Linked DNA regions of Homo sapiens: all the other regions are linked to region 1. Evidence: promoter capture Hi-C in 16 types of primary human blood cells and fetal thymus (Javierre and others, 2016). All regions are on one chromosome and are shown on one strand. Each heading gives the region's core, a stretch centred on a gene start or on the middle of the fragment in contact. The rest is flanking DNA. Distances are from core to core; before and after follow the strand shown. Region 1 holds the start of CENPC (centromere protein C). Region 2 overlaps TMPRSS11D (transmembrane serine protease 11D). Region 3 has its middle 34 kb from the start of TMPRSS11A. Region 4 overlaps TMPRSS11A (transmembrane serine protease 11A). Region 5 overlaps TMPRSS11A (transmembrane serine protease 11A).

Region 1 (2,700 bases), core at 95-2,594:
AATGCATGCAAAGCATTTCAGAACTGGGCATAGAGTATGCAGTCAATAAATGTTAGTGTTTATCATTATCTATTCCAAATGTGACAGCACCAAATTATAAGTTGGACTGATTGGCAAAACTGCCAAACATAGTAAAAAACTCTCCATAATGATTCCAATAGCTTTATTATTGAATTCTTACTATGTTCCAAACATTGTGCTTAGATCTTAACAGGAATTATTCAATTACAACATCTCAACCACTTTAATAGTATTCTCATTTTGCAGACAAGAGAATTAAGGAACAGATAACTTAGTTGCCCATAATGGCAGAATTAATGGAATGGAGTGCAATCCAGGCCTAATTTCAGTCAGAGATCATAGTTCCTTTTTTTCTATCAAAAAAATAAATAAAATAAAAAAATTGGCCTTCATAGTTGACAGCATTTGTTAAAGCACTACATGTTTTAAAAATCTATTAGCTCAACTCCTGATTAATGTATTTATTCAATTAGTAAACTATTTTCTGATTAGAATTTTCTTGTAATTTTAAATTAAATAATAAAATAAGATACAGCTTCATAGAATCATACACTGGTCAGGTGAGAAGTCTTCAGAGCGTCTAATTTAGACTTCCATTCTATCACTATGGAAACACCCAGAATGGTGCCGCAATTTTGCCCTCCATAACATAGCTAGTCAATGGCTGGCAGGTTTCAGGATTCTGTATAGAATTCTTTTCAGTGCATCATACTTAAATGATAGATATTTACGTGGGTCATTTGTTGGCAATGCATCATAAAAATATCGCCCACATACTTGAAAAAGAATACAAGCCATCATCACCATTATTATACATAATTATTCAATTATTTTCAGAGATGATGGTTAGATGGGCTGGGCGTGGCTGACGAATCTGCATTAGAAAAATCTCTTCAAAAAAAGATTCTATTAAAAAAAAAGTCGTCTGCAATTTCTACCTCTCATCCTTCCAAGTATTACTTATTATTCCTTAATAGAACTGTTGAGAAGTTTTACATTGGGCACAAGGAGCGGTTCCCAGGATCGTGCCTTCCTAATAAAAGCCCAGTCTCGCGCCTGTCCCGGGCGCGGCGCTGAGGAAGGGAGGTGGGAAGAGCAGAGCGGCTAGAGGTAGGGCGGGCGGGTGGGTCTGCAGGCTGGAGGGCCGTTGGCCTGGAGCATGAAGGGGCGAGCCCACTAACGGCTTGCTTCCTATTGGACGGCGCGGCCCGTTTTGCGCATGTGTCTCCGGGTTCAAACCCAGGCACAGGCCAAGCGTTCTTGTTTGTTGAGGGCGGAGCCAATGGCGGGGGAGTGTTGTTAGCGCGCGCCTTCCGGATCGCAGCTCTCGCGGCAGTCGCCTGAGACTTAAGGTTATTGCTTGGCCGCGGCCTGGTATTCCGGCGATTCGTTTCTTGCTCGGCTTCCTGGAGCTGTGGTCCGTGTGGGCTTCCACCTCAGACAGTTGCGCTGGCTCAGCGGGGCCGGAACATGGCTGCGTCCGGTCTGGTAAGTGCAGGCCCCCCGCTCCAGGCGAGTGGTTGAGCGGCTGGCTGGGGCACGGGCGCCCGAGGCTGGGGAGAAGGAAATGCTAGGCTGAGGCTGTGATCTCTGAGGGATTTCAGTGGGAAAGCCGCAGGAATTTTTGAAATCAAGTGTGATCGTGTGTCGATAACCAGAGTTAATTTACTGTACTTTTATTATTTCTTAAGTTTTCATGTCGTCATTTCGTCTGTGCCTACGTCTTACTCTTGAGAGGTGCTTGTGATTTCTGCTGGGTTTTTTTTTGTTTTTGTTTTTGAGACGGGGTCTTGCTCTGTCCCCCAGGCTGGAGTGCAGTGGCGCGATCTTGGCTTCTGCTTTTTAGTCTAGCTCCAGTTCCTAGGCCTCCAAATAACTTTTCTCCCCATGGTAGAAGTATTGAAACGCCTTAAAAGTGTGTCTTTGCGTCACACTTGGTAGTTGGGAGAAACAGATTATGTAACAAGTACGTCTCGAAATAATTTGACGTTTTCAGTTCTTCTGTCAAAATGGTGGCCTTTTATGCAGTTCTTGAGGCTGATTTATGGAGCATATGTTATTGACAAACTCTTCTGAAAGACAGCTATCAGTTAAAAGGTACAAGCTGTGAATGACTAATGGGGGCGACAACTCATTTTGTTTACATATTTCTGGACTTCTTTGGTGTTCACTATTCTATATTTCATACTTTGGTTATGGTTACTATATAAAAATCCGTATCATTTCTTTTCTAATTTATCTCCCCTTCTAAGAAAATCTTCAGCTTCGATGATCTCCCATTATGTGACGTTATACATATAAACATAAAGAGTTGTATGAAAGAATAATATAATCTATACTTTTTACTATGAGCACATATATTGTTTACATTATATATAATCAGAAGAAAGCAATAAAGCCATTCTCACTGTGGGGAGAGAAGCGGAATAAAGCTTACCAGATGCCTGCAGTTCAGTTTTTAAATGCCTGTCATAACCTATGTTATGTCATAACATAACCTCAAAATTGTTTTGAGCCCTTAGGAGATGTTTGGTGTATAGCATGCCCATACTGGATGAAGTTACTTTGAAAATAAATTTTACTCGACTCTATCTTAAAGAAACCAAATTGATGATTTACTTTTCTTTCAGGATCATCTCAAAAATGGCTACAGAAGAAGATTTTGTCGACCTTCCAGGT
Region 2 (2,700 bases), core at 50-2,549, 300 kb before region 1:
TCTAGTTAAAACACCTATTTAACACACTATTAAACACTAAGTGTGTTAAATAGTGCAGTTGATGTATTTGTCATGTCACCTTTATCATACACTAAATCCTTCTTTGTCTTTTTTTCTGTACTCTAATCTCTTTCTGTAAGTAATCTTTGCTTGCAGCAGTAGGATATTTAGAGTACTGTGGCTTGACAATATATTTAGTATTTCAAGATTTCCATGAAATTCTTCTGATGTATGAGTTCCCTAGTTAATCTTACATATGTATCCCTTTGTAAAAACACTTTGAACATTTAAAATGATACATGAATAGTACTCTAATACAATGCCATAAAAATTATAAATCATTTGTATAGACTGGTAAGTAAAGATTGTGAGATTAAGAAACGCATCAAAGGCCATTGAGCTGGAAAGTGGTATAATGAGAATTCAAACCAGGGTCTCTTGACTCAAAATCTAAGGATCATACCATTTCTCATGATAATATGAGTATTATTGTTATCTCTATCCCATAGACAAAGTGTTAACACTGAATGAGCAGTGAAATAGTCTCAGAATTTTTTATTTTATTTAGCAATTCACTTGTCATTTCTGGTCCTCAGTTTATTCACGAGTAAAATAAAATAGTTGGACTAGATAATTTCTATAGTACATTCTTACACAAAAAATCTATGATTTTGTTATTTTTAATGTGATATACTCATGGCACTCATTCACCTCATTTTCCCAGCCTGCCTCACTGGTCATTACTTCTCTGTGTTCTTTACAGGCTCCCCCTCCTCTACACTGCCATTAAATATTGAAACACCTCAAAGCTTTACTTATGTCCACCTCTCCTCTGACACTATCATTCTGTCTAGATGATCCCATACATACATGCCCATTACTTCAACCTGTATTTATACGCCAATGATTCACTATATTTCCAGCCTAGACATTCTTTTGTACTCTAGTTACCAGCTTGATATCCTTACATGGCTGTTTCAAAACAACTCAAATATATTATCTCTCAAAATCAAACTCATGATGTCCCCACACCATCCTAGCTTTCCACCAACAATACCTATCCCTATTAATAGCAATACCATTTATTCAGTTATCCAAATCAAAAACCTAGAATTCATCCTTAAAATTCTACTATCATTCCAAATATCCTATCCATCAGCAGCCACTGTATTCTTAATCCCCTGTATTTCCTTCAAATCCATTCACCTCTCTCCATATCCATTGCTGCATGACTATCCAAGCCATCGCCTCTACCCTAGGGTACCAAAATAGCAACAAACCTAATCTGTTCATTTGCATTATTTTTTCTCCAAAACTGATTATCTATATGTAGCAAGACAGATTGTTCTCAAATTGCAAATCCCACTATATTATCCTCTTGCTTCAAACACTTCCATGGTTTCCCATTGTTTATGATAAAACCAAATGCTTCAAGTTCGAAGACCGGCATGATTGGGAATTTCCTGTCACCCTAGCCTACTTGCTCTCCATGGTACAGTTGCACTGGCTTTCTTTCATTCCTTAAGTACAACCTGTTTCCTCCCACCTCAGGACTGTGCATGTGCCATTCATTCTGCTGAGGAGCCTTTTTCCTTCCACTTCAATCAGCTAAGTCTGATTCTTCCTGACAATCTCAGCTCAATAAGCATTTCCTCTAAGAAATGTCTCTAATATCATTAATTGGCTCAGGTCCCTCTACTGTATTGCTGCACTTTTCACAGTTATAATTTTACTTAATTATGAATGATTATTTGATTAGGTCTATTTCCATCCATTAGACATAAGCTTCATGATGGCCAGATTACTGTTTTCTATCCATCGTTGTATTCCAATACCTGACAGAAGGAGGGCGGGAGGTGGTGGCACACAAGAGATGCTCAAAAACAATTGTTGAATAAGTAAATGAATGAGGCCATTTAGAAATAACGAAAGTACCTGTTTACAAAGTACATGTATCAAAACTATGAATGCATTCTACTTACATGGTTTTCTCCAAATAAAACAAAAGACTTCAATCAGGATTAATACCTGGGATAAACTGAGTCATTAAATCTCTCCTTTGCCATCAGGAGTGACATTGAAACAAATGTCTGCAAACAACAAATACTTTTTTCCCAAAATATATTGAATGGCATTTCCATAAACAAACTAGAACATGGGAGGAGAAAGAAAGCAATATTAATTTAAAATTAATCTTATCACATAACTTATACCATCAGGGATTTCGGGTAAAATTCCTTTCAGGCACATCCATTTAACAAGAATTGATTGTTACTGAAAGCCTAGAAGAGAATTTGGCACATACTTGGTGTTCAAATATTTGTTGACTGAGTGAATAAATGATGCAAGTGTCTAAGAAACACAAAATAAGGACATGATTACAGTCACGGTGGAGTTCACAGTCATCTCCAAAATGAGGATATGCATCCCAGGGAGGACCAACAATTCATTGGAGTGCTGAAATAAAATACTCAAAGGTCATTTTACATGTATTTTTTCTCTAAATTACTTTTCTTAAGACACAGAAAACAAAAAAAGAAACTTAGCTTTGTTACTTTCTAACAAATAGTTAAATCATTAAACAGGATTGACACTAGCATCCTTGTTTGGTCTTATGCCTTAGGGGAACATGAAATGTGTGAAGACATTCTGAGATCTGAGGGAAGGGTAGACAGTAATACAGTGGGACTGACCAGGCTT
Region 3 (2,700 bases), core at 124-2,623, 450 kb before region 1:
CACATCCTATAGTTCTCTCTTTTACATTTCCTTTATAAACATCTTAGGCTCCAGCCTGGCCAACATAGTGACACCCGTCTCTACTAAAAATACAAAAATTAGCTGGACTTGGTGGCACGTGCCCATAGTCCCAGCTACTCATGAGGCTGAGACAGGAGAATCACTTGAACCCGGGCGGCAGAAGTTGCAGTGAGCTGAGATCACACCATCACACTTCAGCCTGAGTGACAGAGTGATACTCCATCTCAAAAAACAAACAAACAAACAAACACCCAAAGAAGAAAACATCTTAGGCCTCCCGGTGCCACTTATGATTGTCCAGCAGGCTTAGGAATAAAAGACAGTTAACTGAAGAAGAGCAGAAAAAATTAGAAAGAGTATCTTCAGTTCCACCTGAAAATATACACTCCAACAATCTCAATTTTAAGTAGGAACAAGCCAGCATTGTGAAAAATTATACACACTCACCAGTTCTCCTGAGAGATATTTTAGATTAAAAAAAAAACTCTGTTAATAGTATTCTAAACTATAGGTTATATCTGGTGATCCCACATGAATACCTTTGGTGCTGTGCTTTTATTCTTTGTATATTTTTCGACAATTTAACATATAGAACACTTGGAAATAATAAAGAGATACAGTAACCCTAGTAAAATTTATATAAAATGGGAGAATATTCTGGATAAGATGCTAAATAAAAAGAAAGCATAAGGAAACAATATAAATATATAAAATATCGCTCCAATTTTACCTCTCTTTCTCTTTATAACTATACATACATTTATATGATTGTGCCTTGATATGAGTGTATATGTGAATCTACGTGTATATATGTCTACTTTATAATTATTTGTTTTCTTAAATTAATTTGTATTATTTTTATAGTCAAAAATGGCAATAATATAGGATAATGTGGAATAATATAAAAATACAAGCTTCCCTCAAGGACAGTAATTTAAGCTACCTTGGAATGGCGGTTTGTTAGCAAGTAGATGAAAGCAAAGCAGTCTTAGGAGAGAAGCCTCAGATAAGAAGGTGGGATGGTCCCAATCAATTATTACCTTAAAAAATTTGCCCTTCTCCCACATTTATGTCCCCTGCCCATCCACAGTCCTGGGCAAATTTAAATTAGAAATGAACCAACTGTATTCCTTTTACTCTGTGATCAGTGAAGAAAAACCCAAACTCTGGATGGCTAGTTTTGGAATAACCCGAATCCCTCACTAATGAGAAGAAAGGGGGAGTCAATTATTATTCATGAGAACTATGCTGCCCATAAACACGAGGATGATATCGCTGTAGTGAAGCTCTTCACCCCCATCATATTTTCCAATGAGGTGCACAGAGTCTGTCTTCCAGAAGCTACTTTTGAAGCCTTGCCTAAGAGTAAAGTGTTTGTCACTGGATGGGGAGCACTTAAATTAGATGGTGAGTATCTCAGTAAAACAACAAAGCAAAAAATATAAACCTATCCTTCATTTGAACAGAGATATGAAATAAAATACAAAATCAAAATAAATAAGAGATGAAATCAGATGTCCCATTATAAATATGGCAAAAACAAACAAATAAGAAACAGATGTGGTGAATTTCAAAAACTTTAGCACCATTACTATTACACGGTACCTATATTTATTGTCTTTATATGGACTATTTTGGAAACTGGTTAGAGCTTTATTTTCCAAATTTATTAAAGCATATTTTTACATCATTTTTTCTTTCAAATGCTTTCTTTCATATGTGTAGTTTCTGCTATGGCTGCTTGATTCATAAAGTGTATAATTTGCAAGCACTAGTAATGATAAGCTTTTGCAATGCATCATGCAACTAAACAGAAAGAGCCTTAAATGAATAAACTGAATGATTATTCTTTACCTGGCCCTAAATATTAAATGGGATCCCTCTGATCCGTGTATCTATGGAGCTGTTCTTCAACCTGAAACTTTATAAATTTGACAATAAACTACAAACATAGATGTTTAGATCCTGATATGACTTTCCCATTTTTATGTCTATTGGTTGACTTTTTACATATGAGAGTTTAATCTGCCCTCAAATTTCTAATTTTTGTTTCAAGCTCTTATTATGAAGTCATATGAGTCTAATCAGTTAATTTTTATAGAAGTCGGCTTCCCTCCAATATACACTCTAAAATTCTGATGTTGAGTCTAGGTGGATGCACTATCGTTATAATCTCAGATTATATAATCAAATTTTCCTCATCTCTGAGGGATCTGCATTGTTCTATAGGAAATGGTGATGAGTATAAAGGGGAATTAAATCCTTTAAGACTTAAAGCCACTTCCTGATAAAAGTAGAAAAGGAAAACATCTACTACTTGAGTAGCACCATTACGCTTACCTCTATAATCTTAACTAAACTTAACACCTCCTACTCCCAGAGCTTGGGAGTGATTTGCTACTTCATCATGAATCATTCAAAGCCCAATAGTGTGCAGAATACTGTGCAATGAGCTGTCTACTCTCATAAGTTGAATACATTTCACAATAACATTGTGGGTTTGTAAGGCATCAAAGTAAATTAATAGATATTTGATTGTATTTTTTTATTTTCCTGCACTTTGAAATGGAGACAAGGACCTACTAAGGTTCTCTTCTCCTACCTCCCAAGATTTAGCCAATCATATCTAATTAGAAATCTTGTTACCACAAAAAAGAGAACAACAGACACTGGGGCCTA
Region 4 (2,700 bases), core at 192-2,691, 370 kb before region 1:
AGATGTCCCATGTGGTTTTGTTTTATCTTATACAGAGTGAGACATGCATTGCTTTCTTTAAGGTTGTATTACCAATCACAGAAAATATTACCTATGGTTTATTAATTCTAGTAGATCTAGTGCTGCTGTAAGCCTGACACCTCCCTAGGTCTGCACTCTCTTGGATGGATTTTCTCTGAAGATAGGGCTTGCATTCTCTGCTTCATAGTGGTGGGAAAGACATCACAAATCCCCTTTGGCTTGGTGGGAAAAATCACTTTCAGGAGTTTGAGACTGGCACAGAAACATACCTGTCATAATGCGCTGTGAGTGGCAACAGAATCTGACACTTATAGAGCACTCCACCCTACTTGAACACGGCCTCTCTTGGTGAGTGACCCACAGGTGCTTTTAATCTATTAAATAGATTAAATTAACCTATCATTCTTAATCTGTTAAGTACATTAATAGATTAAAAGCAGCCATTCGTTACTCACCAAGAGAGGCTATATTCAAGTCTGTAAAGCAAACCTTAAGAAGTTTTTTAAAATTGAAATTGTACAAAGTATATTCTCTGATCATAATGGAATCTAACTAGACATCAGTAACAGAAAGATAACATAAAAATCCCCAAATGCTTACCAATTAAAAAACATATGTAAATAAAGAGAATATCTCGAAGAAATTTGTAAAAACAAATAGAACTAAATGAAAACAAAAATATATAAATATATGCCAGATGCTGCTAAAATAGTGTAGAAAGGGAAATTTATAGAAAATGCATATTATAAGGAAAGATATCAAATCAATAATTAAGTTCTCACTTCAAGAAACTAGAAAAATAAAAAATAAACCTAAAACAAACATAAGGAAGGAAATAATAAGAATAAGAATAGAAATGAATAAAATTAAAAATAAACTATAGAAAATTGATAAATAAAAAGCTGATTATTTGATAAAATCAATATTTTGCTAGAAATGTCATTAAGCATTTTTACAGAAGATGAGATATAGCTCAGGGATGTCCAGAATTTATGGGCTATGCTTTTCATGACTTGGAATACATTTTACCAACCAGTTTAGTTTGCTGAAGAAGTTGTGGATTTGCACTGTCACCTACTTACAATACTTAGATTGTCAGTTTCACCTTACTCTTCTCACCATTATTTTATTTTTATTTTTATTTTTATTTTTATTTTGAAACAGAGTCTCGCTCTGTCTCCCAGGCTGGAGTGCAGTGGCGTGATCTCGGCTCACTGCAAACTCCGCCTCCCGGGTTCACGCCATTCTCCTGCCTCAGCCTCCCGAGTAGCTGGGACTGCAGGCGCCCACCACCATGCCCGGCTAATTGTTTTGTAGTTTTAGTAAAGAAGGGGTTTCACCGTGTTAGCCAGGATGGTTTTGATCTCCTGACCTCGTGATCCACCTGCCTCGGCCTCCCAAAGTGCTGGGATTACAGGCGTGAGCCACCGCGCGCCAGGCCATGAATGTTTTTAATTGATGATATAGTAGGCAATATAAATGTGTGTGTGTGTGTGTGTGTGTGTGTGTGTATAATATATATAAACCAATTGTATTCAAATAACAGAATAATTTGAAAAATCTCTTAGCATATTTCTGAGTTACACACTTAAATCTTCCGAGCACTTTTAAATATGTGTTTACAAACATTTCTTCAGAAATAAATCTTGGAAATCGTCTTCTAAAGAAACTGGTGTATTAGGGTTTTTTCAAATGTACTTAGTTTTTTTTTTAATTGATGTATAAAATTGCATGTACTTACCATGTGCAACATAATGTGTTGAAGTATAGTATATGTACACTGTGAGTGTTAAATCTAGTTAACTAAGAAGCGTCTTATTTTACATAATTATCATTTTTGTGGCAAGAACACTTAATATCTACTCTTGTAGCGTTTCTCAAGAATACGATATATCAACAGTAGGCAACCAGAAGCTGGGGGTCTTTACAGGGGAAGGAGTTAGGGAGATGCTGGTCAACAAATTCATATTTGCAGTTAGGAAGAAAAAGTTCAAGAGATCTCTCATCCATCATGGTGACTATAGCTGATGATATATCGTATTCTTGTATTAGTTTTTTATAAATGTGTAACAAATAATCACAAACAGTTAAAACAGCACTCATTTATTTTTATCTCACTGTTTTCATGAGTCAGACGTTCAGACACAGCTTAGTTGAGTCCTCTTCTCAGGGTCTCACCAAACTGTAATCAAGGTGTCAGCTGGGGTTGTGGCCACATCTGTGGCTCCTTTGAAGGTCTCCTCAAGGTTTGCTGGCAGAATTCCTTTACTCGCAGCTGTAGAATGCATGCCAGCTTGCTGCTTTAACTCTTTAGGAAAGTGTCTCAACTCCAGCAAGGCTCGCCCTTTTTGAAATGGCTCAGCTGATTAGGTCAGGCCCACCTTTGATAATCTCCTTTTGATGAATTCAAAGTCAAACTCATTAGAGGTCTTAATCGCATCTGTAAAATTCCCTCATCTTGGCCATATAACATAACCTAATCATGAGAATGGCATCCCTCATATTCACAGATCCTGCCCATATTTGGGAGGAGGGGAATCACACAGGAATCTTGGGGACTATCCTAGAATTCTGCCAACCATGGGGTCATGGTTTCCCAATCAATATATGGTTTGGTATAAAGAATCCCTGAATGCTTGTGCTATTCTTAGTTTTCTACGTAGCCTGCCATAATAATGG
Region 5 (2,700 bases), core at 186-2,685, 390 kb before region 1:
TCCATCAATGGTGGATTGGACAAAGAAACTGTGAGATATATATGTATATATATCTATATATACCATGGAATACTATGTAGCCATAAAAAAGGATGAAATCATGTCCTTTGCAGCAACATGGATGTAACACCACAAGGAAGGCACTTTTATCTCCTCTTTACAGGTAAGAGAACCAAGCTTCTGAAATTAAGGTCCATAGCTGGAAAATGATGGAGGGGAGATTTGAAGTCATCTAGGCAACTCCACACATGTGCTCTTTCCACTAAATTGTTCTACTGTCAGGAAGGGACTCAGCTAAGACAGAAGATAAAATTATTAAAATCTAAATCAATTCTTCTCTCATTTCATTTTTTAAATCCATGAAGATTATAAATCCTCTATGCTGTGCTAGCTAACTTTTTCTTGACAGATACATTAGGTATACTTATTAGAGAAAAATATTCTCTTTCTCATTTCCCTGTATCAGTTTTTGGTGAGGAAGGCAAAGGTAGGAGGAACTGTAATAGAGAAAGATGAAGGAAGCTGATGGATATATTGACATGTGTATGTACATCTAGTGTGAACAATCTATAGTTGGAAGAAAGGTGTGGATGGGTATGCTTTTTGAGGGAAGTTTTTGAGAAAAGAAGTAATATGAACTATTTCTAAATTTCCTGATAAAGTTGTAAATACAGCATAGTCTTCACAGGAGAATCTATTTAGTTTATCATCATCATTCAGCAAATACAGCATGATGTTAGGCACTACAAAAGGCTAAGAAAAATGATTCTCTCTCTCTCATAAACTAATCCAATTTAGAGATTTAGAAGACAACAAATCTGGAGAGGACATGAACCTTCTAAATAATGACCTTCCCTTGCTTTGGGTATCCTGGTTTTAAATATTTTTAGTACAGCTTTAAATAGATCCAAATGAGATATTTTCCTCTTTTACAAAAGCAATTCAAAGATCTAGGTTTTTGTTGTACACTGAGAATTAATACTTTTTTCTTTAAAATCCTTAATTGCAAATCTTTAAATTCTATAAATATTTTGCCTTGTGATCTCAGAAATATAAGCCAATTTGGGATATGGATATCTAATATATTGCTACTTGTTACACGTGAGTAGTGACAGATGTCTGTCCATTTCTTTCTGACATTCCACAAAGAAACACTGAAGAAGGACCAGTGCAATCAAAGAAATGACTGATGGCATCACAAAATATCACATCCCATTTGATGATCTGATTACCTTTTTGTTTAGGGTGATCAGAAAGTCACAGTTTCATGGCACCCTCCACACCCACACACCTTGTATGACACTGGATCCAACTGCTTTCTCCAATAGACACAGCACTTAAAGATGTGGCAGTTAGGCTTGACCCCAAGAAGGCCAAAAAGCCTTCTGTGAGCATCACTCAGTGCTCAGGTTGACTAAGCTCTATCCAGGCTTGAGAGAATGGTTCATAGCTGACTTCTTGGATCCAAAAAAAAAAAAAACACCTAGAGTTTTATACAGATATGATACGAACTTAAAAGGACTGCACTAAAAACTACCAAGATTATGATTCTTATTTTTGGAGAGTAAAGAAAATAGGCTGCCTTTGGAGAGGGGTGCAACAGTTTCTGATCCTCTTACAAACTGCTTGCTGCCCATCAGTGGGTAGGAGGTCTTAGTGAGAACCTACCTGCATGCTCATCCTGAGGTAGGCACTGTGAAGGCGTTAACAGGCTCTGAAGCTACATGGCCCTGGTTTCAGTGAACTCTGTGGTGTCAACTTGGGCAAGTCACTTCCTCTTCTATGAAACGTGAATAATCATAGTACTCACCTTAGAGGGCTGATTTGAAAGCAAATGAGCTCAAACACAATGACATCTGTGCTTGGTGCATATATGGCAGACAACAGTGATTCCCACTATTATAATTATTACAGTCTTACCAAGGAGGAGCTTTCCACAAATAATCAATTACCTAAAATGTCCAAAAACAGGAAAAAAAAATCTCTTCCGATAATTCATGTGTAATTTTCTTTTTTCTCTAGGAGCATTGATCTCAACCTGATGTAAAGCAAGCACTTTAAAAAGTCTTATAAAATTTTCCTGGTAAATGCAAAACTTTCTGATAAATAAATTCTCACCTTTTTATCAATTTGTTAATTCAACAAAAATATACTACATACCAACAGCATGCAAAGCACTATGTTAGATTTTATAGACTATGAAAAGATAAATTGCCATCTCTATGCATAAAGGGTTTGCCGTTTAATAAAAGAGACTATATATTTGCATAAATATATAGTGAATATATTGCATAAATATATAATATATGTTTACATTAAAGAATAAAAGGTATAAGAGGGATAAGAAAAATTGAGACAGAGGGAAGACAGGTCAGTTTGAGATTAACGAATATCCCCAAAGAAGGTATTATCTGAGATTGGCCTTGAAGGATAGTTGTGATTCAGGAACACAGAACTTGCAGAATGAGAAGGTTGTTACAGACCAAAGGAACAGCCTGAGAGGCGTGAGTATGCAGGAAAATGAGGGCCATGCCTGAAAGTACTGGTGGTGTTGAAGATGGAGCCAGGCAAGTTGGTCACAGAGGGAGAGGACCTTGAATGTCTAACATTGTGGACAGAGGCTCAAAGGCTCAAATTCCCTATTTTTACCTTGAGTTCAATCCTTGTGGCAATGAAACCTCAGTGAAGCTTTATTTAAGG

What was found. Contacts are between HindIII fragments. The CHiCAGO score rates a contact against its expected background, and 5 or more counts as called.
Region 2: a contact is called between a fragment that was not itself captured here and the fragment with the promoter of CENPC in region 1, in 2 of 17 cell types (fetal thymus and megakaryocytes). The highest score is 6.0, in fetal thymus.
Region 3: a contact is called between a fragment that was not itself captured here and the fragment with the promoter of CENPC in region 1, in 1 of 17 cell types (fetal thymus). The highest score is 6.6, in fetal thymus.
Region 4: a contact is called between a fragment that was not itself captured here and the fragment with the promoter of CENPC in region 1, in 14 of 17 cell types (naive CD4 T cells, total CD4 T cells, fetal thymus and 11 more). The highest score is 23.9, in naive CD4 T cells.
Region 5: a contact is called between a fragment that was not itself captured here and the fragment with the promoter of CENPC in region 1, in 2 of 17 cell types (fetal thymus and erythroblasts). The highest score is 10.8, in fetal thymus.

Annotation. Positions count from the first base shown.
Region 1 is chr4:67,544,147-67,546,846 of GRCh38, reverse strand. CENPC (centromere protein C) reads left to right here and starts at 1,344. Exons shown (of 19, transcript NM_001812.4): 1 at 1,344-1,509; 2 at 2,652-2,698. The coding sequence starts at 1,492. RefSeq lists a silencer at 1,060-1,199 and enhancers at 1,022-1,572, 1,350-1,589. The HindIII fragment of the contact is 5,245 bases long and covers 1-2,455 here.
Region 2 is chr4:67,847,574-67,850,273 of GRCh38, reverse strand. All of the region lies in intron 3 of TMPRSS11D (transmembrane serine protease 11D), which reads left to right. Among named protein-coding and RNA genes, the nearest start is that of TMPRSS11D, 35 kb to the left of the region's middle. The HindIII fragment of the contact is 976 bases long and covers 812-1,787 here.
Region 3 is chr4:67,996,060-67,998,759 of GRCh38, reverse strand. It overlaps the pseudogene TMPRSS11GP. Among named protein-coding and RNA genes, the nearest start is that of TMPRSS11A, 34 kb to the right of the region's middle. The HindIII fragment of the contact is 871 bases long and covers 938-1,808 here.
Region 4 is chr4:67,915,305-67,918,004 of GRCh38, reverse strand. All of the region lies in intron 8 of TMPRSS11A (transmembrane serine protease 11A), which reads left to right. Among named protein-coding and RNA genes, the nearest start is that of TMPRSS11D, 33 kb to the right of the region's middle. The HindIII fragment of the contact is 3,058 bases long and covers 1-2,700 here.
Region 5 is chr4:67,935,115-67,937,814 of GRCh38, reverse strand. All of the region lies in intron 3 of TMPRSS11A (transmembrane serine protease 11A), which reads left to right. Among named protein-coding and RNA genes, the nearest start is that of TMPRSS11A, 27 kb to the left of the region's middle. The HindIII fragment of the contact is 2,511 bases long and covers 180-2,690 here.